5 separate regions of the Homo sapiens genome follow, and all the other regions are linked to region 1. Evidence: promoter capture Hi-C in 16 types of primary human blood cells and fetal thymus (Javierre and others, 2016). All regions are on one chromosome and are shown on one strand. The core of a region is centred on a gene start or on the middle of the fragment in contact, and the rest is flanking DNA. Distances in the headings are between cores, read along the strand shown.

What was found. The method cuts DNA at HindIII sites, captures the fragments that hold promoters and counts their contacts. A CHiCAGO score of 5 or more calls a contact.
Region 2: a fragment that was not itself captured here is called in contact with the fragment with the promoter of ARL5C in region 1 in 8 of 17 cell types (total CD8 T cells, non-activated CD4 T cells, naive CD8 T cells and 5 more); the score reaches 7.6 in total CD8 T cells.
Region 3: a fragment that was not itself captured here is called in contact with the fragment with the promoter of ARL5C in region 1 in 6 of 17 cell types (naive CD8 T cells, non-activated CD4 T cells, total CD4 T cells and 3 more); the score reaches 7.2 in naive CD8 T cells.
Region 4: a contact is called between the fragment with the promoter of FBXO47 here and the fragment with the promoter of ARL5C in region 1, in 16 of 17 cell types (naive CD8 T cells, M1 macrophages, naive CD4 T cells and 13 more). The highest score is 10.5, in naive CD8 T cells.
Region 5: a fragment that was not itself captured here is called in contact with the fragment with the promoter of ARL5C in region 1 in 9 of 17 cell types (naive CD4 T cells, M0 macrophages, non-activated CD4 T cells and 6 more); the score reaches 8.7 in naive CD4 T cells.

Annotation. Positions count from the first base shown.
Region 1 is chr17:39,163,469-39,168,370 of GRCh38, reverse strand. It overlaps ARL5C (ARF like GTPase 5C), which reads left to right and starts at 2,210. Exons shown (of 6, transcript NM_001143968.1): 1 at 2,210-2,656; 2 at 3,232-3,292. The coding sequence starts at 2,611. RefSeq lists enhancers at 1,780-2,581, 2,582-3,383. The HindIII fragment of the contact is 4,701 bases long and covers 1-3,817 here.
Region 2 is chr17:39,004,817-39,009,679 of GRCh38, reverse strand. It overlaps LOC105371767 (a long non-coding RNA gene), which reads left to right. Exons shown (of 3, transcript NR_188621.1): 3 at 1-634. Among named protein-coding and RNA genes, the nearest start is that of LINC02079, 20 kb to the left of the region's middle. The HindIII fragment of the contact is 3,598 bases long and covers 1-3,224 here.
Region 3 is chr17:38,937,595-38,943,036 of GRCh38, reverse strand. FBXO47 (F-box protein 47) reads left to right here. Exons shown (of 11, transcript NM_001008777.3): 9 at 117-259; 10 at 4,305-4,464. Among named protein-coding and RNA genes, the nearest start is that of LASP1NB, 15 kb to the right of the region's middle. The HindIII fragment of the contact is 6,090 bases long and covers 1-5,442 here.
Region 4 is chr17:38,964,964-38,970,037 of GRCh38, reverse strand. FBXO47 (F-box protein 47) reads left to right here and starts at 2,635. Exons shown (of 11, transcript NM_001008777.3): 1 at 2,635-2,809. The HindIII fragment of the contact is 5,025 bases long and covers 1-3,245 here.
Region 5 is chr17:38,920,356-38,925,176 of GRCh38, reverse strand. It overlaps LASP1 (LIM and SH3 protein 1), which reads right to left. Exons shown (of 7, transcript NM_006148.4): 7 at 3,407-4,821. Among named protein-coding and RNA genes, the nearest start is that of LASP1NB, 2.8 kb to the left of the region's middle. RefSeq lists an enhancer at 2,568-3,178. The HindIII fragment of the contact is 985 bases long and covers 2,077-3,061 here.

The DNA of each region.
Region 1 (4,902 bases), core at 961-3,460:
TGGGAATGGGAGCAGTGGCTCATACCTGTAATCCCAGCACTTTGGGAGGCTGAGGCGGGAGATTGTTTGAGTCCAGGAGTTGGAGACCAATGGCGAAGCCCATCTCTACAAAAAAAAAAAAAAAAAAAAAATAGCTGGGAGTGGTGGCTTTCACCTCTACTCCCAGCTACTCAGGAAGCTGAGGTGGGAGGATCACTTGAGCCTGGGAGGTTGAGGCTGCAGTGAGCCGCGATCCTGCCACTGGACTCCAGCCTGGGTGACAGAGCAAGGTTCTGTCTCAAAAAAACAAAACAAAACAAAACAAAACAAAAACATAAACACCTGGACTAGGTCTGTTTTGTCTACTTCATGTATTTCCTGGCTCATATTTGTCAAATGAATGAATGAACGAATGAATGCTTCTTAAGATCCAGGTCCTGGGCCTCAAAGTGGAGGCAGATCTTCTCGTCTGTTTTTCTATTTTCTTTTCTTTTTTTTTTCTTCTTTTCTCTTTTAATTATTATTTTTTTTAATCAGGCAGCTTCCAGAGCCAGAGTATGCTCAGAGAGATGCCCTCTCCTTGTCTGTTTACTGAATGTGTTTCCAGCTTGCAGAGTGTTACTTTCAATTCTGCAAAGAGGAGGTGGGGAGGGCAGCATGCACTAAGATGTTCCTCCCCGCATCCCACTAACCCCAGGAAACAGATGGTAAAATGCTTAAGACACTGCTGCTTCCCTCAGCACCCTTGGTGCCCCACCCCCCAGCCCCAGACTTGGCTCCTTCTCTCCTAAGGCTGAAATGCAATCAGCCCAGATGGGCTCTGGCAGTCAACTCTATCCTTCTAACTCTGGGCACCAAGCAGGGTGGGATGAAAGTCTGTATTTAGTCAGCTATTTTCCTTCTTCTTCCCGCAAACTTCCCAGCCTTCCTCAATCCTCTTAAACTTGTGTTCACATTCCTTTTTTAATACTCCAAGTGCCATTTCTCAGGCTGTAGCTTAACTCATTCTACATCAGTCTGACAGCAACACATTCCTCCTGTGTGCAGGGTTCTGGACCAGGCAGGGAGTGATTGGGCTGGCGGGGGAGGTCATATGCTGGTTAACAATATATGAATCCCACCCTGGTACTCACAGTTGATGGGAGGAAACAGACTTGCCCGTCTATAAGCCCAGTGTAGGGAGAAGCCCCATGTGGCTGGAGAACCAAGTCAGGGCTGGGGAAGCAGGTGGCTTTTATGGCAGGGCAGCTAATGGGTCTCAGGCATTCTCCTTTCTGAGAAGGTGAAAGGCACTCAAGGAGGAAATGCAGAAGCAAAGGCACCATCAGAAAGAGCCAGGCATGTATAGGCAGGAACCAGTAGATACAGAGCCTGGGAGATAAACCTGTGAAGGCAGGTGGGGGCTGTTCGTGGAAGCTCTTGAATGTCAAGTGGAGACTGATCTGAATCCAGTGAGCAATAGGGAGCCATTGAAGATCTATGAGCTGGGGGAGTTACAGACCCTGAGCTGTGCTTTAGGAAGGTTAATAGGGGCCATGGAGAGGATGCCTTGGGAAAGGAGAGGAAGATGCAGGGAGACCAGTTAGAAAGTTGTTACCTTAATGGAGGGTTGTTACCTTAGTGGAGGCTGCAGGAAGGCAGTACAGTCGGGTGGAAGGAGCTGGCTCCCTGGTGTGTTGGCTGGATCTCCTGCTAACCATTCCTGCAGCCTGAGGGCACGTTGCCTTTTGGACTTCTCCTTTTGTTATCTGATTTTTTGTTTTTTTCCCCCCAGCTTAAGCAAAGAAAGAAATTCACAAGCAACAGCAGGAAACTCCACCTTCCATTCCCTCCTCAGGCCTGGCCTCCTGGTTCTCTGTTGGCCCATGTACTCCTCTGCCAGGTATCTGGGGCCTCTCTGCAGGGTCTCCAGCCGGAGGATCTCTCTTCATGCTCCATCCTTGTCTTCAGGCGCCCACTTTTGGGGATCAGGAAGCTGTGCCTGGGCAGTAGGTTTGTCCGTGAATTGTAGGAGTACTGATTTATCCTAGAAGTTGCCAAGCATCAAGGGGAGACCCTGCCCTTCCCCAGGGGAATGCAATTTGAGTGGGCCCACAAGACCCACGCTAGTGAACCAACTGCACATCTGTGGAGGGTTGGAATATTCTCCCAGCTCAGAGAGGATCGGTGAGCCCTGTCTGTACTACACAGCTGGTAGGTACAGAAAGTGGGTCGCCTGGGGTTTTGCTTCAGTCTAGTGCCCTAGACATGGCACTCAGAGGAGGGAGAGCTGGGATCCGGTTCCGCGCGCAGTGCTGAGTCTCCCCTGATTTGCGGTAGTGGAGCAGTCCACCCGGAGAACTCAGGAGTTTTCGCAGGGCGAGGGGGAGGGCTGGAGCCTGGAACCCCCATATTCCTTGCACCTCTTGGGCCCGGGACAGGCAGCCCTTAGTCACTGGGGTGTCCATAGTGCCCACGAAGGGCCAGCGTCCCAGAGGGTTCCCAGGTCAGGTTGGTGACGTGTGGGGCTTCCCTAACTTCGTAGGCAAAATCTGCCAGACCCTCCCGGGGGAGCGGAGCTCCGAATACCAGGGCCGACTCCGCTCCTGAGGCCGCTGAGCCCTCCTGCACCTGTCCGGCCCGGGAAGTGCCATGGGACAGCTGATCGCCAAGTTAATGAGCATCTTCGGGAACCAGGGTAAGGGGCGCACAGGGCATCCAAGCGAGCGCTTTGATCTCGCCCTCTTCTGGGACTCCTCTGATCTGTGGTCGGACGCACGGGGGGACCTCGGGCTCCGAGGGTCGTATATGGGCGCTCCTCGACTGCCCCGCGGCCTCCCCTGCCCCCGTCCCTGCCTGCTCCTCTTGGGTCCCGGCGCTTCGGTGCGCCCCAGGACGCAAAGCTGGGCGACCCTCCTTTCTCCCCGCTAAACGGAGCCAGCGGCGGGGATGGGGGGCTGCTGCGAGTTTCCTGCGATTGTGACTTCGCGTTATGCTCTTTCTCTAAACACCGTCTCTTGGCAAGCCCCGAAGCGCCCCGGGCCTTTCAGACACTTTTCTGGAATGTGAAGGGAGGTGGGGGCTCAGCTGTCTTTTCCACCGTCCCGGAGTGGGGCAGGTGTCGGAGCTGGGTGGGAAGCAGACGCGGTACGGTGGGCAGAGGTCCCCAGCCTGCGGGGAGCGCTATCTCCTTCCTGGGAGGTCTGGTGGGGGCACACAGTCCCTTGGTCTTCGGGTTTGGCCCTGACGCTGCCCTTCCTCCGACGCTTCCAGAGCACACGGTCATCATCGTGGGACTGGACAATGAAGGAAAGACCACCATTCTCTACCGGTTGTAAGTGACTCTCGGGCGGGGAGGGTAGAGAGCTGGGCCTCCCACCAGACTGACAGGCAGGGGGACCAATCACTGGAGCTCTTCCCTGGGTTCCCGGGCTCCTCTGTAGTCCGGAGGAGCGATTGGGCACGCTGCTTGGACCTTCCTAGTACTGCGGCTCCTCGGTCTGGCATTCAAATCCTGCACCGTACAGGCAACCCTAGCTCCCACTGCTTTCCTCCATCTTCCCGGGGGCCCTGCCAAACCCAGCTCCAGGCCTGCCAAGTGTCCCAAACTGCCTCCCTGCTCTTCGCTCCCTCTAGCGGCAGGTCCCTCCTTTCTCACCCCTGTCCCCTCTGCCAGTTAACTTTCTTCCCCTTCTTCAAACCCAAAGGCTCACTGAGGCTCTGTAGCTCCTGGTCTAGCAAGCCTGGCACATATGGGTGGTGCTGAGTAAATACCGATCGCAGCTTTCCCCGATATTCGCTCTCTGGATGGCACCTCTCCCATTTTACAGCCTCCAAAGTACTTTACTTAGGAGAAGCTTTTCCATGAAAAAGTAATACATGTAATGATTTTAAAAAATTATAAAGGAAAATTTCAAACAATGGAGGAATACACGGTGAAAAGTAAGTTTCCTTCTTGCCTCTGGCTCCTAGTTTTCCTCCTATTGTAACTTTGCGTAACTTTTCAGAAGCATTATTTACATATAAAAGCATGTGTATATTTTCTATGTCACTTTAAACAAAGCACCTCTCTGATGTCCCTCACTGTGTCTGTCTCATTTTTCTAAACTCTTGCTCCTCAAAGTGTGGTCTACAGACCAGTCACACAGGCATCACCTGAAAGCTTATTAGGAATGCAAAACCATGGCCGGGCGCTGTTGCTCTCAAAGTGCCTGTAATCGCAGCACTTTGGGAGGCCGAGGCGGGCGGATCACCTGAGATCAGGAGTTCAAGAGCAGCCTGGCCAACATGGTGAAACCTCGTCTCTACTAAAAATACAACAACAACAACAACAACAACAACAAAGGGCTGAGCAAGGTGGCTCACGCCTGTAATCCCAGCACTTTGAGAGGCTGAAGTGGGTGGATCTACCTGAGGACAGGAGTTCGAGACCAGCCTGGCCAACATGGCGAAACCCCATCTCTACTAAAAAAATATAAAAATTAGCTGGGCGTGGTGGCACATGCCTGTAATCCCACCTACTCTGGAGGCTGAGGAAGGAGAATCACTTGAACCCGGGAGGCAGAGGTTGCAGTGAGCTGAGACTGCGCCACTGTACTCCAGCCTGGGCGACAAAGGGAGGCGGAGGTTGCAGTGAGCTGAGATTGTGCCACTGCACTCCAACCTGGGCGACAGAGAGAGACTACATCTCAAGGAAAAAAAAAAAAAAAAAGCAAAACTGTGGCCGGATGCGGTGGCTCATGCCTGTAATCCCAGCACTTTGGGAGTCCAAGGTGGATGGATCACTTGAGGTCAGGAGTTCGAGACTCGCCCAGCCAACATGGCGAAACCCCGTTTCTACAAAAATACAAAAATAAGCCTGGCGTGGGGGTGTGCTCCTGTAATCCCAGCTACTCAGGAGGCCGAGGCGGGAGAATTGCTTGAACCTGGGAGACATGATCGTAC
Region 2 (4,863 bases), core at 176-2,675, 160 kb after region 1:
ATGGGGCTGCCTTGCCAGCTGGAGCCTGAAACTGTGCCCAGGTAGACAGAACTGCGAGTCCCAGGACAGCCTGGGAAGTGTTGGCTGCCTGGTAATGGAAGAATGTCCAGGATGGAAAACAAGAGGCTGGATCTGCAAATGACATTGTATTTCAGGGGTCTGCTTTCCTGGTCTGCCCCTCCCCACCTCTGTAGCTCCCTCACAGTGACAGCAGAGCTGTGAACCCAGGAACAAACCCCACCATTGCCCCTGTCCTCTCTCATCTCTACTTTCCACATTGAAAAATAATAAAAGAGGCCAGGCATGGTGGCTCAAAACAGCTATAATACCAGCACTAGGATGCCAAGATGAGAGAATGGCTTGAGGCCAGGAGTTCAAGACCTGCCTGAGCAACATAGAGAGACCCACCCCCCAGTCTCTGCAAAAGCTAAAAATTAGCTGAGCATGGTGGGATGCACTTGAAGTCCCAGCTACTTGGAGGCTAAGTCAGGAGGATCACTTGAGCCCAGAAGGTTGAGGCTGTAATGAACCATGATTGTGCCACTGCATTCCAGCCTGGGTGACAGAGTGATATCCTGTCTCTAAAAAATAAATAAGGTAATAATAATAAAATAAATGCCCTCCAGGAGTTTCAGTAAAGGGTCTGAAGTATATAATTTGTACTTGTACCTCAGGCCAGCCTTCTGCCAGTAACCATGATTGCAGGCTGATCCCAAAAGTCGTTGTCTTCATCTGTTTTATGCTACTATAACTGAATACCACATGCTGGGAAATTTACTAGGAATAGATGTGTACTTAGCTCACAGTTCTGGAGGCTGGGAAGTCCAAGAGCATGACACCAGCATCTGGTGAGGTCCTTTATGCAGCTTCATCCCATAGTGAAAGGCAGAAGGGCAAGAGAGCATGAGAAGGAGCAAGCAAGAGAGGGCCAAATTCGCTTTTATAACAACCTGCCCTCTCAATAGCAAACCCACTTCTGCAATAACAACATTAACCTATTCATAAGGGTGGAGTCCTCATGACCTAATCACCTCTTAATAATCCTACTTCTTAGAACCATCACAATGGCAATTAAATTTCAACATGAGTTTTGGAGGGGACATTCAAACCATAGCTGTACAGTTTATATAGCTAGCATGGTCAGGCTCAAGTAAAGCTATCGTAGGATTATTGATTGCCAATCATGTTCCAGGCTATGCCTTAAGTGCTTTGTATACTTGCAACAAATTTGTGAACTGAGAATTATTCTTATGAGTGTTTTCCAAACGCGGAAACAGGGTTCAGAAGACTTAAATAGGAAGGTTGCCCAGACAAAACAGCAGGAATTTGAACCCAGAGGGAATTTGAACCCAGGTCTGTTCTGCTCTAAAATCTGTGCTCTAAAAAAACAAACAAAATTTCTGTTATGGCAAATTTCTAATATACACAAAAGTTCTACAAACTAGTACCATGAATCACCACATATCTGCCACCAAGTTACAATAACCATCAACACAGGGCCACTCTTGTTGCATCTCCCCCTTCTCCCTAATTTTTTTTTTTTGTGTGTGAGATGGAGTTTCACTCTTGTTGCCAAGGCTGGAGTGCAATGAGGCGATCTCGGCTTACTGCAACCTCCTCCTCCTGGGTTCAAGTGATTCTCCTGCCTCAGCCTCCAGAATAGCGCCCACCACCACGCCCGGCTAATTTTTGTATTTTTAGTAGAGACAGGGTTTCACCATGTTAGCCAGGCTGGTCTCAAACTCCTGACCTCAGGTGATCTGCCCTCCTCAGCCTCCCAAAGTGCTGGGATTACAGGCATGAGCCACCATGCCCGGCCTACTTTTTGTATTTTTTTTTTTAGTAGAGACAGGGTTTCACCATGTTGGCCAGGCTGGTCTCGAACTCCTGACCTCAGGTGATCCACCCACCTCGGCCTCCCAAAGTGTTGGAATTATAGGCATGAGCCACCACGCATGGCCAATTAAGTCATTTTTAATGAAAATTAGATATCATGTCATTTCACCCATAAACAGTTCAACATGTGTCTCTAAAAGATAAAGACATTCTTAACCCCCTCAAAATAATATCTTTAGGTGAGAGATTACCAAGAAAATGTCTTGTTGTTCTTTGAAACAGAAAAATGGCAATATTTGCATTACCCCCAAAGGAAGAAAGCATTTCTTCGGATGTCTTGTGGCATTTTAGCATAACGTGGTGGGTGGGGCATAGTCATTGTCTGCTGAGTCCAGGAATGCCCACTGGGCAGCCCCTTAATCACAAGGATCTGTCCACCTTGCCCCGTGGAACAAGCTATTCTGCATGTTACCCCTAAGTAACATCAATTGATCCATAAAGAAAACCTGCTCATACCTATAATCCCAGCACTTGAGGCGGGCAGATCACCTGAGGTCGGGAGTTCCAGACCAGCCTGACCAACATGGAGAAACCCCATCTCTACTAAAAATACAAAATTAGCCAGGTGTGGTGGTGCATGCCTGTAATTCCAGCTACTCGGGAGGCTGAGGCAAGAGAATCGCTTGAACCCGGGAGGCAGAGGTTGCACTGAGCTGAGATCGCGCCATTGCACTCCAGCCTGGGCAACAAGAGTAAAACTCTGTCAAGAAAAAGGGGAGGGGAGGGGAGGGAAGGGGAGGGGAGGGAAGGGAAGGGAAGGGAAGGAAAGGAAAGAGAAAGAAAGAAAGGCATGCCTACTGGAAACCAGATGTAACCGGCTGTGCTGTCTCAGAACCTGTTACATGGTTCCCTGGTGTGTGTGTGTGTGTGTGTGTGTGTGTGTGTGTGTGTGTGTGTGTGATAAGATTCACATTTCTGAACATACCTATGTCTCAGACATTAAGCTAGGTGCTTTCAGATGTGCCAAGAACCTAACACTCAGGTTTTAAAATTTTGATTAGATTCTTGTAGTTCAGATTCCCATTTGGTTCAAAATTCTATTCTGTGCTGGAATAGTAGGGAAGAGAAGATACTCCCTTCAGAGGCTAAACCTATCAATCAGCAGCATTTCTTAAGAGAGAGTGAGAGAAAGAGTGTGTGAGTGTGGGTGAGTGTGTGTGTGTGTGTGTGTAAGCCACCCTGAGAGTCACCCTGGAAAGTACCAAGACTAGGCTATGGTTCCTCCCCTATCCTGCCATGGAAGAAATCTCCCTGCATTGGAGTCCACGGATACTTAGTAATCTCCTTCTCCCATGCTCCAGGGCTTGTGATCACTGTCCTAACAAGCTTGGGAGTTTAGTAGTTAGGGTGGATGAGACAAAAGTACACAAAGAGCCAGGTACGGTGGCTCAAGCCTGTAACCTTAGCACTTTGGGAGGCTGAGGCAGGAGGTTCGCTTGAGCCCAGGAGTTCAAGACCAGTCTGGGAAACATAGTGAGCCCTCATCTCTACCAAAAATAATGTTAAAAATTAGCTGGGCATGGTGGTGTGCACGTGTAGTCCTAGCTACTAGGGAGGCTGAGGCAGAGCTTGAACTGGGGTGGTTGAGGTTGAGTGCAGTGAGCTGTGATCATGCCACTGCACTCCAGCCTGGGTGACAGATCTAGATCCTCTCTCTTAAAAAAAAAAAAAAAAGGTACACAAAGAAGTGGATCTTGGCCGGGGGCGCTGGCTCACGCCTGTAATCCCAGCATTTTGGGAGGCTGAAGCAGGCAGTTCACCTGAGGTCAGAGGTCAGGAGTTCGAGACCAGCCTGCCCGACATGGTGAAACCCCGTCTCTACTAAAAATACAAAAATTAGCTGGGCATGGTGGCGCACGACTGTAATCCCAGCCACGCAGGAGACTGAGGCAGGAGAATCACTGGAACCCGGGAGGCGGAGGCTGCAATTAGTCGAGATCACACCACTGCACTCCAGACTGGGCGACAGAGTGAGACTCCGTCTAAGAAAAAAAAAAAGTAGATCTCCTAGGCAAAAGGTACCAAATACCACAGCAGATGTCATGAGGGGCAATACGGAAAAGCAGTAGCATCAACGTGTGATGAGAAAATCAGGAAAGCATAGGGGAGGAGCTGGTGGCATGTGAGATGTAGAATGTGCCCCAGAACTGTGAGCAGTTTGCTCTACCCAGCCATGTACTATGGACTCTAGAGGCCACACGATGGGTTCTACTCTGCAGTCCCTCCTCGCGATGATGCTGCTGATGGCCCTTATGGCGTGTTGGGGGCTTTGGTCCTATTTGTGCTCTTGGATAAGTGCAAGGTTTCCCCTGACTGCTCAGGGACGTCTGCCCCTAACACGGGACCCTTGTTGCTGGTGGAGATGGCTCTCAGGGTTTGCTTGTTAACCCCACAAAGCTGGGGGTTGCTGCAGCTCTCTGTGACTCTAGCAGATGGTTTGCTGGTTGAATCATTCGTTTTGTGCCACAGTGAGAATGACGAGGGGGTTGGAAGCACTGCTGGAGGGAAGAGTTATACCTGCTGGAGTCACGGCTCAAAATAGACCCATGGTTAGGACTTTTTTTTTTTTTTTTGAGTTGGAGTCTCACTGTCACCCAGGCTGGAGTGCAGTGGTGCAGTCTTGGCTCACTGCAACCTCCGCCCCTCAGGTTCAAGCCATTCTCCTGCCTCAGCCTACCGAGTAGCGGGATTACAGGCTTGCGCCACAACGCCCAGCTACTTTTTGTATTTTTAGTAGAGATGAGGTTTCACCATGTTGGTCAGACTGGTCTCAAACTCCTGACCTCAAGTGATCCGCCTACCTCGGCCTCCCAAAGTGCTAGGATTACAGGCGTGAGCCACCGCACCTGGCGATAATTAGAATTTTTACAGCCAGAGTGATGGAGGAGGGAATTATAAGAAGAAAGGCACAGGGGCAGGAACAATGCATTTTCAGAGAATTCCCAGTAAACGATGGGTGGTGGAGAG
Region 3 (5,442 bases), core at 1,479-3,978, 230 kb after region 1:
TTCCCTTGGCACTAATTGTATTTCCAATAAAGATAAAATATTGCATGTACTTAATGGTATTTACTATAGCTGTTGTGTGATTTCTCATTAAATAATTGTTCTTCCTCTAATAAAAGTGGTTCCCCGTGAGTGGCTTCTAGAGAATAATGCACGTCTCCTAATGCTAAGTGGAAACAACATCTGTTTCAGTTTCATGGCTAGTAAAGCTGTGAATGGACGCACCATTGAACTGGCAAGGCTCGTAGTCTTTTTGGCTTTGGTAAGTAAAAATAAGTTTTTCTCTAGCAAGTTTTTTAACACTACAATTGACCTACAGGGAGCTGCCCTGAAGGAACTGAAATGTGGACAAAAGATTTTGTAAAAATGAGTATTGAAGTATATATTTTTAATGTTTCTTTTTCAAAATATTAAAACATATGTTTTCTTTTGTTTTGTTTTGTTTTTTGAGACAGTCTCACTCTTTTGTCCAGGCTGGAGTGCAGTGGTGCGATCTCGGCTCACCGCAACTTCCACCTCCCATGTTCAAGCATTTCTCCTGCCTCAGCCTCCTGAGTAGCTGGGACTAAAGGCATGCACCACTATGCCCCAGCTAATTTTTGTGTTTTTAGTAGAGACGGGGTTTCACTATGCTGGCCAGGCTGGTCTCGAACTCCTGACCTCATGATCTGCCCGCCTTGGCCTCCCAAAGTGCTGGGATTACAGGTGTGAGCCACCACACCTGGCCTAATATTAAAACATGTCATAAACTATAATATTTGGAATCATCCCTTCTATTAACTTCTCCCCACTTCAAGTCTGGATTTTCATTATACAGTTCTGCTAAGTTATATTCTTTTTAAAAAAAAATTCCATGTTAAAAAAAGCATCCCATTTGATTTACTTCAAAATAATCACTGTGGGGGTGGGTTGGGGAGAGGACTTGGGAGTAAATGGAGATAGAGTTGAAATAAGATTGATAATTGTTGAAACTGGGAAATGAGTACTGGGAGTTTATTATATTATTCTCTCTAATTTTGTATAGTCAAAATGTTTCAAAATAAAAAGTCTTAAAAATATATTTAGGCCGGACGGGATGGCTCACACCTGTAATAAACCCAGCACTTTGAGAGGCTGAGACAGGAGGATCACTTGAGTCCAGGAGTTCAAGACTAGCCTGGTCAACATGGCGAAACCCGTCTCTACAAAAAAATACAAAAATTAGCTCGGTGTGTTGGCAACATCTGTGGTCCCAGCTACTCAGGAGGCTGAGGTGGGAGGATTGATTGAGCCTGGGAGTTTAAGGTTACAGTGAACCAAAATTGTGCCACTGTACTCCAGTCTGGGCAACAGAACGAGACCCTCTCCCCTCTCAATACACACACACACGCACACACACATACATATACACATACATATATATATATATATATATATATAATATTATATTTATTTAATATTCATTTAACACAAATTTGTATTGAGTGCTTACTATGGGCCATAAATTATGAGATTCTTGAGCCCAGGAGTTCGAGAGCAGCCTGGAAAACACAGCAAGACCCTGTCTCTATAATAAAAATGTTTAAAAATTGGCCGGACATGATGGCTCATGCCTGTAATCCCAGCACTTTGGGAGACTGAGTCAGGCGGATCACCTGAGGTCAGGAGTTCGAAACTAGCCTGGCCAAAGTGGTGAAATGCCAACTCTACTAAAAATACAAAAATTAGCCAGGTGTGGTGGCAGGTGCCTGTAATCCCAGCTACTCGGGAGGCTGAGGCAGGAGAATCACTTGAGCCTGGCAGGCGGAGGTTGCAGTGAGCAGATCATGCCACTGCACTCCAGCCTAGGTGACAGAGTGAGATGCTGTCTCAAAAAAATAAATAAATAAATAATAAAAAATTTAAAAATTAGCCAGGAGTTGTGGCATGCGTGCCTGTGAGCTCAGCTACTCAGGAGCTGAAGTGGGAAGATCACTTGAGTCTGGGTGGTCAAGGCTGTGGTGAGCCAAGATAGCACCACTGCACTCTAGCCTGGGCAACAGAATGAGATCTCATCTCAAAAAATAAATTACTTAAATAAAAGGCTGAGTGCATTGGTTCATGTCTATAATCCCAGCTCTTTGGGAGGCTGAGCCCAGAGGATCACTTGAAGCCAGGAATTCAAGACCATCCTGGGCAATATAGGGAAAGCCTCAATTCTACAAAACATAAAATAAAACTAGCTGGGTGTGGTGGTGTGTGTCTATCGTCCCTGCTACTCAGAAGGCTGAGGCAGGAGGATCACTTGAGCCCAGGAGTTTGAAGCTGCAGTGAGCTATGGTCACGCCACTGCACTTCAGTCTGCATAGCAGAGGGAGACCCTGTCTCTAAAAAATAAATAAGTAAATGAATAAGTAGGAGTTCACCAGGCAGATAGAGGGTGGCAGCAGATTATTCAAGGCAGAAGAAAAATGGGATCATGTGACTGTATTCAGGACACTGTAAGCAGTTCAGTATGATTTCTGAAGGGTAGAATCTGCAGAAGAGTAGCAGGAGGTGAGGTTAGACATGAAGGGAGAGGCTAGGTAAGGAAGGGTTTTGTGGGCCATTCTGTGGAGCTTGAACCCATTTTCTAATAGGGAGCTACTGAAAAGTTTTATGAAGGGGAGAGACATAATTGGCTTTGTGTTTTTGGCAGATCATTTTGGCAGCACTATAGCAAATGTAATGAAGAGAAAATCACTAGGGGTGGGGAAGCCTTCTCTAGAAAGCCTTCTCTGATTAACATGTCAATTCTGATCATTAAAGTTCTCTGAATTACCTCTGATTTGTCTTCTCTATCTTCATCTACTATTAGTGTCCTTAAGCCACTGTATGTGTGGAGTAGGTCATCTCCCAAAATAGACTGCAAGCTCTTTGAAATCCAGTACTGTGTCACTTATTTCTTTCATAGTTCATAATACAGTGCTTTACACATAATAAATAGTCAATAGATCTTTCCTATCACAGTGCTATTATTTAGTTACACTACTATACAGTTTATTTTAATAATATGCATTATTTATTTGGCTATGTGAGTTAGATTGGCAATTAAGGATGTTAGTAAAGAAACCTTGGCCGGGCGCGGTGGCTCACGCCTGTAATCCCAGCACTTTGGGAGGCCGAGGCGGGTGGATCATGAGGTCAGGAGATTGAGACCATCCTGGCTAACAAGGTGAAACCCCGTCTCTACTAAAAATACAAAAAATTAGCCGGGCGCGGTGGCGGGCGCCTGTAGTCCCAGCTACTCGGGAGGCTGAGGCAGGAGAATGGCGTGAACCCGGGAAGCGGAGCTTGCAGTGAGCCGAGATTGCGCCACTGCAGTCCGCAGTCCGGCCTGGGCGACAGAGTGAGACTCCGTCTCAAAAAAAAAAAAAAAAAAAAAAAAAAGAAACCTTTTACTTTTCAGTCAGTTTTAGCTAGGAACATGTAATCTTTAAATATTTATCTTTTCAATAATGAAGAAACAAATATTCCCTAAAATTCTCAAGATGGAAAGTCGACAATACCATAGAATTCTCTTGCTTATTGAAATTGCCCATTTGTCTATCACCTTCATTGGACTTCTTGAAAATAGAGCCATGTCTTTATGGTTTGTCATTGTATCTTCAGCTCCTAGCAGGTGCTCAATAAATGTTTATTGAATGAGTAAATGAGCAGAAATTTTTTTTCTATGTTCAGTAACTGTTTTCAATACATATATATATATATATATATATTTTTTTTTTTTTTTTTTTTTTTTTTTTTTTGGAGATGGAGTCTGGCTCTGTCCCCCAGGCTGGAGTGCAGTGGTATGATCTCCGCTCACTGCATCCTCCGCCTCCTGAGTTCAAGTGATTCTCCTGCCTCAGCCTCCTGAGTAGGTGGGATTATAGGTGCTCGCTACCATGTCTGGCTAATTTTTGTATTTTAGTAGAGACAGGGTTTCACCATTTTGGCCAGGCTGGTCTCGAACTCCTGACCTCAGGTGATCTGCCCACCTTGGCCTCCCAAAGTTCTGGGATTACAGGCATGAGCCAGCGTGCCTGGCCTGTTTTCAATATTAGTTATTTCATTAGTAAATATTCTTCTATGATAATCTTAAATTAGGCTTGTATTTACTTCATACTTTTTTCCCATTAAAATTGTACCATTTGAAAGCAAAATAGTATTAGATAGAAGAGCATTTCCCATGTATAGACTCAGTATGGTGTCAGGTATCATAAATTATGTAAAATCACAAACTATAATTATTCATCATTGTTCACCATTTTCAAATTCTATAGCTTTCTTCACATGAAGGTTTATAGCGCTTTATATGTCTAAATCAGGTGTGTGAGAAAGAACTGTACTGCATGGATTGGACAGTTAAAATGATGCAAAAAGTCTGCAAAGTCTTTAGCACTCCAGTGGAAAGAAAGAACTTCCTGCAGAATGTGGCAAATGCATTTGCATGTGTTATAATGGAAATGCTGCAATCAATTATGTCTGGTGAGTAGGAATGTACTTGGTGCACAGGTGTGCGTAAAAATGCGCTCTAGTCTCCACCTAAAACAGAGATATTTTTCTCTAACAGTCCAAGAATGGAAAAAAAAAAAAAAGCTATTTCTATGTTGACTTTAAAAAATAAAAACTAACAATAAGTAGAGGAAGCGGACTTTTGTTTGTTTTTCCTTGCAATATATTTAGTTCCTGGCTTTCGTCACTTTAAAAATCTGGTATTGGTTTTAATGGAGAATATAAAGTTGAAGAGTCTGCTTTGAAAGGAACCACTTTCAATTTTGCACAGCAAAAAAATTTAACTTGCTCACTTACCAACTGTCACTAGCATAAAAATATATTTGTAAATATTATTTTACAGCTTTATTAAGTAACCAACATGATAATTAACCCTATTTTACAGATGAGAAAACTAAGGCTTAGAGAAGTTACCTGACTTACCAAGGTCTCAAAGTTAGAAGCAATAAAGCATGGATGAGCATCCTTTTCTTCTGACTTCTAATCTACTTTTCTTATATAATTCCATGATTTCAGTAGTTAACTTGACTTAGTAAAGTCACTAACAAAAAGTCTCCTGTTTAAATATTACTAGGGAAGGCTGGGCGAGGTGGCTCATGCCTGTAATCCCAGCACTTTGGGAGGCCGAGGCGGGTGGATCACAAGGTCAGGAGGTCGAGACCATCCTGGCTAACACGGTGAAACCCCGTCTCTACTAAAAATACAAAAAAATTAGCTGGGCGTGGTGGCAGGCGCCTGTAGTCCCAGCTACTCGGGAGGCTGAGGCAGGAGAATCGCTTGAACCCAGGAGGTGGAGCTTGCAGTGAGCCAAGATTGTGCCACTGCACTCCAGCCTGGGCGACACAGGGAGACGCTGTCTCAAAAAATAATAATAAATAAATAAATATTACTAGGGAAAATTAGAACATCTTATGTTTCAAATAAATTATATACGTATAAGGCGGGTGGATC
Region 4 (5,074 bases), core at 1,386-3,885, 200 kb after region 1:
TCGCTTGAACCTGGGAGGCAGAAGTTGCAGTGAGCCGAGATCGCACCATTGCACTCCAGCCTGGGCAACAAGAGTGAAACTCCGTCAAAAAAAAAAAAAAAAAAAGAAGAAAGAAAGAAAAGAAAAGACAAAACTCCACTAGAAAAACTCCTCACTTGCATATCTCAGTAAATGGGATTAACTTCTACCCATTTATTGAAGTCAGAAACCTGGGAATTATTCCTGTCTCCTTCCTTTCCCTTCCTTCCACCCATATCCAATCCATTAGGTAAATTCAGTTACTTCTACCACCAAAATATATCTCAAACCCATCCCTCAGAGCCACCATTCTAGTCCTGCAACATCCTAACAGATCTTACCCTCCACTCTTAGCCTCATTTATTCTCCACATAAAAGCCAGAGCAATCTTTTAATGATGTAAATCAGATCATAGCACTCTCTGCTTAAAACTCTTCAAGGACTTCCCATGACACTTCCCATGACACTTTGAGTAAAAGCTAAATTCTCACCACTAAGGATCCTTGTTTCCATTATGTGCGTCTGGCCCACTGCCAACGGGATGATACTTGGTCAAGGACCTCTAATCAATGTTGGAGACAGGGGGAAAAAAAAGAATTGTCTGCAGCTGGGCACGGTAGCGCAAGCCTGTAATCCCAGCACTTTGGCAGGCTGAGGTGGGTGGATCACCTGAGGTCAGGAGTTCAAGACCAGCCTGGCCAACATGGTGAAACCCCATCTCTACTAAAAAATACAAAAAAATTAGCTGGGCATGGTGGTGGGTGCCTGTAATCCCAGCTACCTGGGAGGCTGAGGCAGGAGAATCACTTGAATCTGGGAGGTGGAGGTTGCAGTGAGCCAAGATCACACCACTGCACTCCAGCCCGGGAAACAGAGGCAGACTTCATCTCAAAAAAAAAAAAAAAAAAAAAAGAATTGGCTGCAAAAGGATACAAAGCCAGGGCTGGGCCCGGTGGCTCACACCTTTAATCCCAACACTTTGGGAGGCAGGCAGATCGCTTGAGCCTCGGAGTTTAAGACCAGCCTGGGCAACATAGCGAAACCCCATCTCTGCTAAAAATACAATGGTGGTGCCCACCTGTGGTCCCAGCTACTGGGTGGCTGAAGCAAGATAATCAATTCAACCCAGGAGGCAGAGGCTGCAGTGAGCCGAGATCGTGCCACTGAACTCCAGCCTGGGCGACTGAGCAAGACTCTGTCTCAAAAAAAAAAAAAAAAAAAAAAAAGGCCAGGAGTGGTGGCTCACACCTGTAATCCCAGCACTTTGCAGTGCTGAGGTACGCAGGTCACCTGAGGTCAGGAAAAAAAAAGATACAAAGCCAAATGGATGAATATATGTGACTATATAAAATAACAGCATGCCAACTAATCCTAAATTTCCACTCAGTCTTTATGTAGTTCCTTATATATTTTGTGTTGGGTATAATGTAGAATTGATCTACAAAAGTAGAATCTTTCCCCCATTCCCTCTTCCCTCAGCCCTTCTCCTGACTGGCTCCTTCTCCTCCATCAGTTCTCAAATCGTCATATCAAAGGGACCTTGAGTATCAGTCTATCTAAAGTAGCTCTCCGCCAACACACACACACCCCATCATTCTGTCTTATTTCCTCTGTCACGCTGCTCTCACCGGAACTGCTCTCAACATCTGTAGATGCTCTGTCTGTTCATTCTATCTTCCCCATTAGGCTAATAAACTCCATTAAAGCAGGAAACGTATCTGTCTTGTTCTCTATTCCATCCTTAGGGCCTACTCCTGTGCCCGGCCCAGAGCAGGCTTCAATAAATAGTTACAGAATGAATGAAGAAATGAATGAATGAGAATTTAATCTTCTAGCCAGGAAGGCCTAGCTAGAAAGATTTGTCTTGATTTCATCTTGAGAGGATGGAGACACACATCTTCCTTTGATTCCAGACAGATTTATTATTTATGTGTTTATTTAGAGACCGGGAGCGGGGTTATGGCTGGGGGTGGGGGTCTCCCTATGTTGCCCAGGCTGGTCTCAAACTCCTGGACTCAAGGGAGCCTCCCGCCTCGGCCTCCCAAAGTGTTGGGATTACAGGCGTGAGCCACCGCACCGGCAAGACAAATTTAAAAAGGAATGTCTGGAGGTTTTTTTCCACCAAAAGGTTTGATGAAACCCCTTGTAACTTGCCCTACTGGAGTCAGTGGGGGTGGGAGGAACTCAAAAATTGTCTCAAAACTAGGTGAAGGGAAAGGCAGTGGAGCAGAGACGTGGCTCGCCACGTTCAGGATCTTGGGCTACACCCTCCCCTTCCCCACACCGTAACGGCTCCAGCCCCTTCTTGTCTTCAGCTTGGAGCGAAGGGTGGCTGAGGCCTGAGTTTGGGCTCCAGGAACCTCGCCCTTGTTAGTTATTCATGAGACGGAGGGCACCATGGGAGCTGGCTCTCTTGCTATTCATAAAGCGGGGAGGCGGGAGGCGGGGGGGAACCTCCTTCCCGCTAGGGCTTCTGGGAAGATCTACAATATTCATGAGGGAGGCGGGCACTACGAGAGCTGAGGCTGCTTGCTATTCATGAGGGGGCGGGCCTCCTTCCCGCGGGGGCTCTTGGGAAGATTCTACAATATTCTAGAGGCCGCGGGGACGCCTGGTGGGTAGGGCTGCAGCTCCGGAGCCTACGGGAGTGTGACCCTCTCGCCTCCTGGCGGGAAGCTCTTGAGGAGATATTTTCTTTTCTAAACACTAAGAAATTTGAGGATGGTGGGGCAAAACGACTAACTCCCACTTTCCTGTGACTCTGTAGCCGGAAAAACTGTCAAAATCTGTGGTAAAAGAGGGTTTTTTTTCCCAGTATTTTATTGCGATAATTTCATCTTTCATGGACTGAAGGGAGCGAAACATGTACCCCGTGTGGTCTGATTCTCCTGTTGACCAGTTTGTCCTTTAGGCTTCCCTAGTTTGCGGCTTTGGAGATGTTTGGGGGCAGCTGCCCGACAGATGGGGTGGGGCCCTTACAAGAGTTTTATGTTAAAACAGACATCCCTGTGAATGTAGTTTTTATCTTAAAGGTGTGGGGGGCGGGGAGGTTCATCCAATTGAACCCTCAAAACCTTTCACGCGCGGTCAAAATTAGTGGGATAGAACAGGGGGCATGAAACATCATTTTATTATTATTATTTGGGGCTGTGATTCTTATTCGCTAGAGGGGTGAGCGGAAACCAGAAATAATTTAGGATTATACCTTTAGAATTTTCACAAAAGCTTGCTTTTTCCCTACGAAACGTCCAGCTCTGAGTGAGGAAAATAAGGAACTATAAGTGGAGACTTGAGTTTTAGAAGAATTTGGGCTTATCATTTTTAAATTTTTGTTTATATTTATTTTAAACATGTATGTAGTTCACAGTTGACACAGTGAAGTCCCCGCCTGGTGACTGACAGTCTTTGAAGAGCCCACGGGCCCAAGCCCCACTGTCCACATTTCTCAGAGAAACAGGAAGAAGCCAAGGCCGGATTTATGCTATTGTAATAAAAATGCTTTAAAACACCTACTGTGTTGGCCGGGTGCGGTGGCTCACGCCTGTAAATCCCAGCACTTTGGGAGGCCGGGGCAGGCGGATCACGAGGTCAGGAAATCGAGACCAGGCTGGCTAACACGGTGAAACCCCGTCTCTACTAAAAATACAGAAATTAGCTGGGCGTGGGGGCGGGCACCTGTAATCCCAGCTACTAGGGAGGCTGAGGCAGGAGAATCGCTTGAACCCGGGAGGCGGAGCTTGCAGTGAGCCGAGATCGCGCCACTGCACTCCAGCCCAGGAGACTGTGCGAAACTCCATCGCAAACAAACAAACAAAACGCCTACTGTGAAAAGTTAAGGTTACAAACAGCCTTATGGATTAAACAAATTAAGATTATTTTACTTGGTGGAATGACACATAGCCATTAAAATATGATTACTTGTAGAAGGTTATTAGCATGGAAAGAGAATTCATTGAAAAAAGCAGATTACAAAGTATTATATATAGTGATCCCTCTTTTTTGTTAAAAAGAAATATATGTATGTAAAAGTCTGAAATTATATAAACCAAAGTGTTTATAAGTGAACTTAATTTTTTTCTTCTTGTTTAGCTGTATTGTGTAAAGTTGTTATTTGTGTAATTATTTTTTTTTTTTTTTGAGGCAGATTCTTGCTCTGTCACCCAGGCTGGAGTGCAGTGGTGTGATCTCGGCTCACTGCAACCTCCGCCTCCCGGGTTCAAGCGATTCTCCTGCCTCAGCCTCCAGAGTAGCTGGGACTACAGTCGCGTGCCACCATGCCCGGCTAATTTTTTTTTTTTTTTTTTTTTTTTAGTAGAGAAGGGGTTTCACCGTGTTAGCCAGGATGGTCTCGATCTCCTGACCTCGTGATCCACCGGCCTCAGCCTCCCAAAGTGCTGGGATTAAGGCGTGAGTCACCATGCCCGGCCTATTTGTGTAATTTTAATGATAATTTTAAAATACCTCCTAATTTAAGTGTTCACTGAATACTGACCCCAATCGCTGTGGTATGGTTTCAAAGGAGGTTCAGAGTGTACTTTTCACTAAACACTAAATTTCTTTGTTATGTTTTCAAATGTGTAACCAATTTTAAATTGATGTAAGTTGATATGTAACATTTCAAGATGTATAAGTAACAATGTTACTTTAGCAATTTGTAGAAAGGAGAAAATGCATTTTGGCCAGATACAATTATATATCTTTGATGAAAATGTCTTAGTTGTTACTTCAGAAACAAGGAGCCTTCGATTGGAGTTGTAATTATGCGTATATGTATATGTATACACAAAAGACATTGTTTTCTGAATTAGAACAATAGAGTGACACAAAGTCGCTGTGTGGTACACATGTTTAAATAATTATTTAGTGTAATGGGCGGGCGTGGTGGCTTTCGCCTGTAATCCCAGCACTTTGGGAGGCTGAGGCTGGTGGCTCACCTGAGGTCAGCAGTTCCAGACCAGCCTGACCAACATGGTGAAACCCCGTCTCTACTAAAAATACAGAAATTAGCTGAGTGTGGTAGCACACGCCTGTAATCCCAGCTACTAGTGGTGGCACA
Region 5 (4,821 bases), core at 1,320-3,819, 240 kb after region 1:
AGTTTCGTGTGGATCTCAGTGGGCTTCCCTGAGGGATGAAGCTAACATTTATACATTTCCTACACTGGGCCAGATATCGTACATGTGGTGCAATTTCAACCTCCCTATGAGTCTTTCATAGATGGGGCTCAGAGATGGTCAGAAACTTACCCTAATGGTTCATAGCTTAGATGTGTCAGAGACCAGCCGGGCGCAGTGGCTCATGCCTATAATCCCAGCACTTTGGGAGGCCGAGGCAGGTGGATCACAAGGTCAGGAGTTCAAGACCAGCCTGGCCAAGATGGTGAAACCCTGTCTCTACTAAAAATACAAAAGTTAGCCAGGCTTGGTGGTGCATGCCTGTAATCCCAGCTACTTGGGAGGCTGAGGCAGAGAATTGCTTGAACCCGGGAGGCAGAGCTGAGATCGCGCCACTGCACCCCAGCCTGGGCTACAGAGCAAGATTCTGTCTCAAAAAAAAAATAAAAATAAAAATTAGCCGGGCGTGGTGGCAGGTGCCTGTTATCCCAGCTATTCAAGAGGCTGAGGCTAAAGAATTGCTTGAACCCGGCAGGCAGAGGTCGCAGTGAGCTGAGACCGTGCCATTGCACTCCAGCCTGGGTGACAGAGCGAGACTCCGTCTCAAAAATAAATAAATTAATAAATAAAATAAAAAGTAAAAGGCTGGGTGTGGTGGCTCATGCCTGTAATCCCAACACTTTGGGAGGCTGAGGTAGGTGAATCACCTGAGGTCAGGAGTTCAAGACCAGCCTGACCAACATGGAGAAACTCCAGCTCTACTAAAAATACAAAATTAGCTGGGCATGGTGGCACATGCCTGTAATCCCAGCTACTCAGGAGGCTGAGGCAGGAGAATCGCTTGAACCTGGGAGGTGGAGGTTGCAGTGAGCTGAGATTGTGCCATTGCACTCCAGCCTGGGCAACAAGAGTGAAACTCCGTCTCAAAATAATTAATTAATTAATTAAAAATGTCAGAGACCAGGATTCAAAACTAGGCATGCTGACACCAAAGTCCATATTCTTCCTCTTGCGCCACACTGCTCCCCCTGTTGGTCCGGAAGGCCCCTACACCCCACGTGCACTGCTCAGCTTGCAGTGGACTGCTTTCACATCGATCCACCTACAGGACGAGCACCAGAGACCCCTCCTCCACCCACTCCTTCGTCTCTTTGCAGTCATTACCCACTGTTTTGTTTTCCTTCTTTCTTTTTTTATAGAGACGGGGTCTTGCCATTTTGCCCAGGCTGGTCTCAAACTCCTGGACTCAAGCGATCCTCCCACCTCAGCCTCCCAAAGTGCTGGGATTGCAGGTGTGAACCACCGCACCCGGCCTAGTTTTGTTTTCTTTGGTATCCTCTTCCAAAAGCTCAGCATAGTGTTGTACACAGAGAGGACACTGAAGAATTCCCCAGGGGTATCCCTGAAATTTAAAAAATTCAAGTGGTTTCTTCTGAGGGGGAAAAGAGAATTATTTTATTCTTTTTATTTATTTATTTATTTATTTATTTATTTATTTATTTATTTATTCTTAGACGGAGTCTTGCTCTGTCACCCAGGCTGGAGTGCAGTGGCACGATCTCAGCTCAGTGCAAGCTCTGCCTCCCGGGTTCACGCCATTCTCCTGCCTCAGCCTCCCGAGTAGCTGGGACTACAGGCACCCGCCACCGCGCCCAGCTTATTTTTTGTATTTTTAGTATAGACGGGGTTTCACTGTGTTAGCCAGGATTTTTGTGCCTTTTTATAAGCCTCAATTATTTTCTATTAAATTAAATCATTCCCTAGGACGTCTCTGAGGCCTAGTCTCCTTGGCCCCCACCCCAAATAATATTTTTTTTAAAGGCCTGGGGTTAAGATATATTGGTAACCCCCTCATAATGCAAGACCTCAGGAACTTAGGCCACTGCCAGAAGGAAATCCAGAAACTCCTCCCATTGGCCCATTTCCAGGAGGCAGAGCTTTCTGTGAGCAGGGAGTGGAGACTTGGCAGCAATGTCCCCCAAAGCACTGTTCCATCAAATAGATCTGAAGGTGAATGAAGCCTCCCGGGGAGTGGGGCAGGCCGACATGAGGCAAGCTTTGCCAACTAATTCCCTTCTATTGGGAAAGTATTGGGCTGCCTGCACCCCTGGAGGGGAGCAGGTGTCAGTGCTGTCTCTAATTATACCACCCAGGGCAGCCTTGGATGCTCCCCACATTGCCCCAGCTCAGCTGACTCTGGCCATGTCATTCTCCAGATTACAAATGCTCAGCTCAGGAGAGCCCTCCTCCTCTCCACCCTGCTGTGATTCTGAGGCTGGAGAATTCCTTAGTTCTGAGCCCCAAGAGAGAAATGCCCCTCAAGCAGCTGGACCTGAGGCTGATTGGCAGCACTGAGCAGGGCCAGATTCCCCTCTCTACCACTGTCCTCTTCCCAAGCCCAATGAGCAAGAGGGGAGGCCGCCTGGCCTTCTGGCCAGTCACAGACCCTGGGCACCTGGAGCAAAACATGGAGCCCAGGAGACACACATCTAAGAGCTGCCACAGACACAGGCACGCGGCCTGCCATGGCCGGGTGGCACAGCACCAGACTGTGAGCATCACATGGGGGTCTCAGGCCCCACTCTGCCACTAGCTGTGACTGCCACCAATCTGCTTTGCCTTTCTGGGTTTCAGTGAGCCCCTCTATAAGTAGTTACTTCTCTCACAGGGTTGTGAGGAAGAAGGAAGAAAGGGGATGTGTATTAAAGATTACATTCAGAAGGCACTGTGAATAGTGCTTTGGGTTGCCAGGCCACCTTACAGACAGCTTTATCCAGGTCCCGTCCCACTGTGGAATGCCCTGTCATCTCGTTCCTCAAATGCGTGGAGCTCCTGCTCTCTGCCTGGCAGCGGCAGAGTGCTAGAACTGCTCCCCAGCCAAGCTCATTCATTAATTCAACAGCTCCGCACCGCTCCTGGGCAGGTACCCGGGATTTAGAGATGAATTAGACTCATCACCTGCCCCAAGGGCTCTGGCTAGTGGGGAGACAGATATGTCACTGAGGAAGTGACACAGTAATACGAGACGGAGCTCAGGGAAGCTTCCGGGAGCATCACCAAGTTGGGCAGAGAGGAATGAGCGGGTGGAAAGCCAGAAGTAGGTTGGTGGGGAGTTCTCAGCAAGGAGGAAGTAGGGGCCAAGGGCCTGACAGACAGCAGCAAACTCCCCCTTGGCATCCAGACAAGTCATTCTCTCCCCGAGGGGCAGCAGAGGTCCCAGGAGGGCCACAGGCCAGTGCCCCCAAGCAGACAGGACACACACACACACACACACACAGTGGCACCTTACAGCTAGACACACACACACACAGCAGCACCTTACAGCTAGAGACACACACCCACACACAGACACACACAACAGCAGCTCAGAGCCAGAGAGGAAACCAAGTCCGCAGGTAAAAATTATACTTTTATTTGAGTCACCAGGAGAAAGATTCACTTGTGGTTCAAGTCAAATGTTCAGAATCATAACAGGCCAGAAAGGTTTGATCCCGAGCACAAGCCCACGAGGGAGGGGACCAAAACAGACCAAAATGAGACAACAACCCCATATAAAAAGATGAACTGGCGGCTTCACACACTCACACACATACACATACACACGGATGAAATGTTTGGACAGAGGCAAATTTCACGTGGTCATTTCTGTTTCTTTTTAAATACAGGTTTGTAGGGTGGTATTTTGTTTTTTCCAGCTATAAAAAAAGGCCCAAAAGTGCATGTGTGAGGGGGGAAAGGCAGAAATTAAGCAATAAAGTCATTTTCCCTGGAGGGACATGAGAGGGAGAAAACAGGAGGCAGTGCTGGGAGAACGCACTTTCCTCACCACTGGGCTTCTTGTTATTCTTAGTATTGGTCCACAAAAGTTATATTCACATTCTAGCTTTGATGCCTCTTTCCTGGGATTAAATGAGCTGAAAGACCTCTGTGAACTGTAGAGAAGACCAGGGGCTCAGCCCAGCCCAGCCCAGCCCCTCAGGGCTCTGTGCTCTTCTAGGGATGGATGGTTTTGGTAAAGAACAGACGCCCAGCAGCCCCCGGTCACTCAGCACCAGTGTGACAGTCCCTCCTCTCTCTGGGGGTGTGTAAGAAAACGGCCCCTATTTTTAGGACAGGAAGAGTAGAGGGAGGGCCTGCAGCAAGATTCCATGACTGGCTTGCCTTATCTGGGAAGGAGAATTAAGCTGAGTGAAAACAGGCTGCTTCTTGCTGCTCCTCCCTTCCACTCACCACTCTCCCAAACTCAGGTCCTCTAAGGGGATGTGTCCCTGACCTTTGGTCCCCAAATCCACATTGTGCTTTGAGATCAAGAGGAAACAGAATGCACCAGCGCCACCCAAGACTCCCAAGAGATTCTCTGCCTCCCCGAGCCCCCAAATCGCCCAATATAAGATATTCCACTTGCCTCCACCTAGGCTGGGGCCAGAAAGGAAAAGGGATGGGTCAGGCAGGGCCTCCCCACCCACAGTCTTTTCCTCAACCTCTCATTCGGGGCAAACATCCCCAAATCAATTAACAAGCAGTTGACAAAAACACCCATGATGACTGATTGTTGAACAGGCCAATACCTTCAGGTCCTGCCCCTCACCTGTGGGTACAAGTGTGCCAAGGGACAAGAGGCCAATGGCAGGGCCTGGTTGGGCTCAGGATGAAAATGGGATGGGGACTCCCAGAGGGTGGCAAGAAAACCAGAGATGAATCAAGTGAGGCCAGGGTTGTCACAGCCACCCATGAGCAGAGAGCAGGAACTGGATATAGCACCGTCTTTCCCTCCCCATCCCCGAGGCTGTGCTTCCAGTTTTG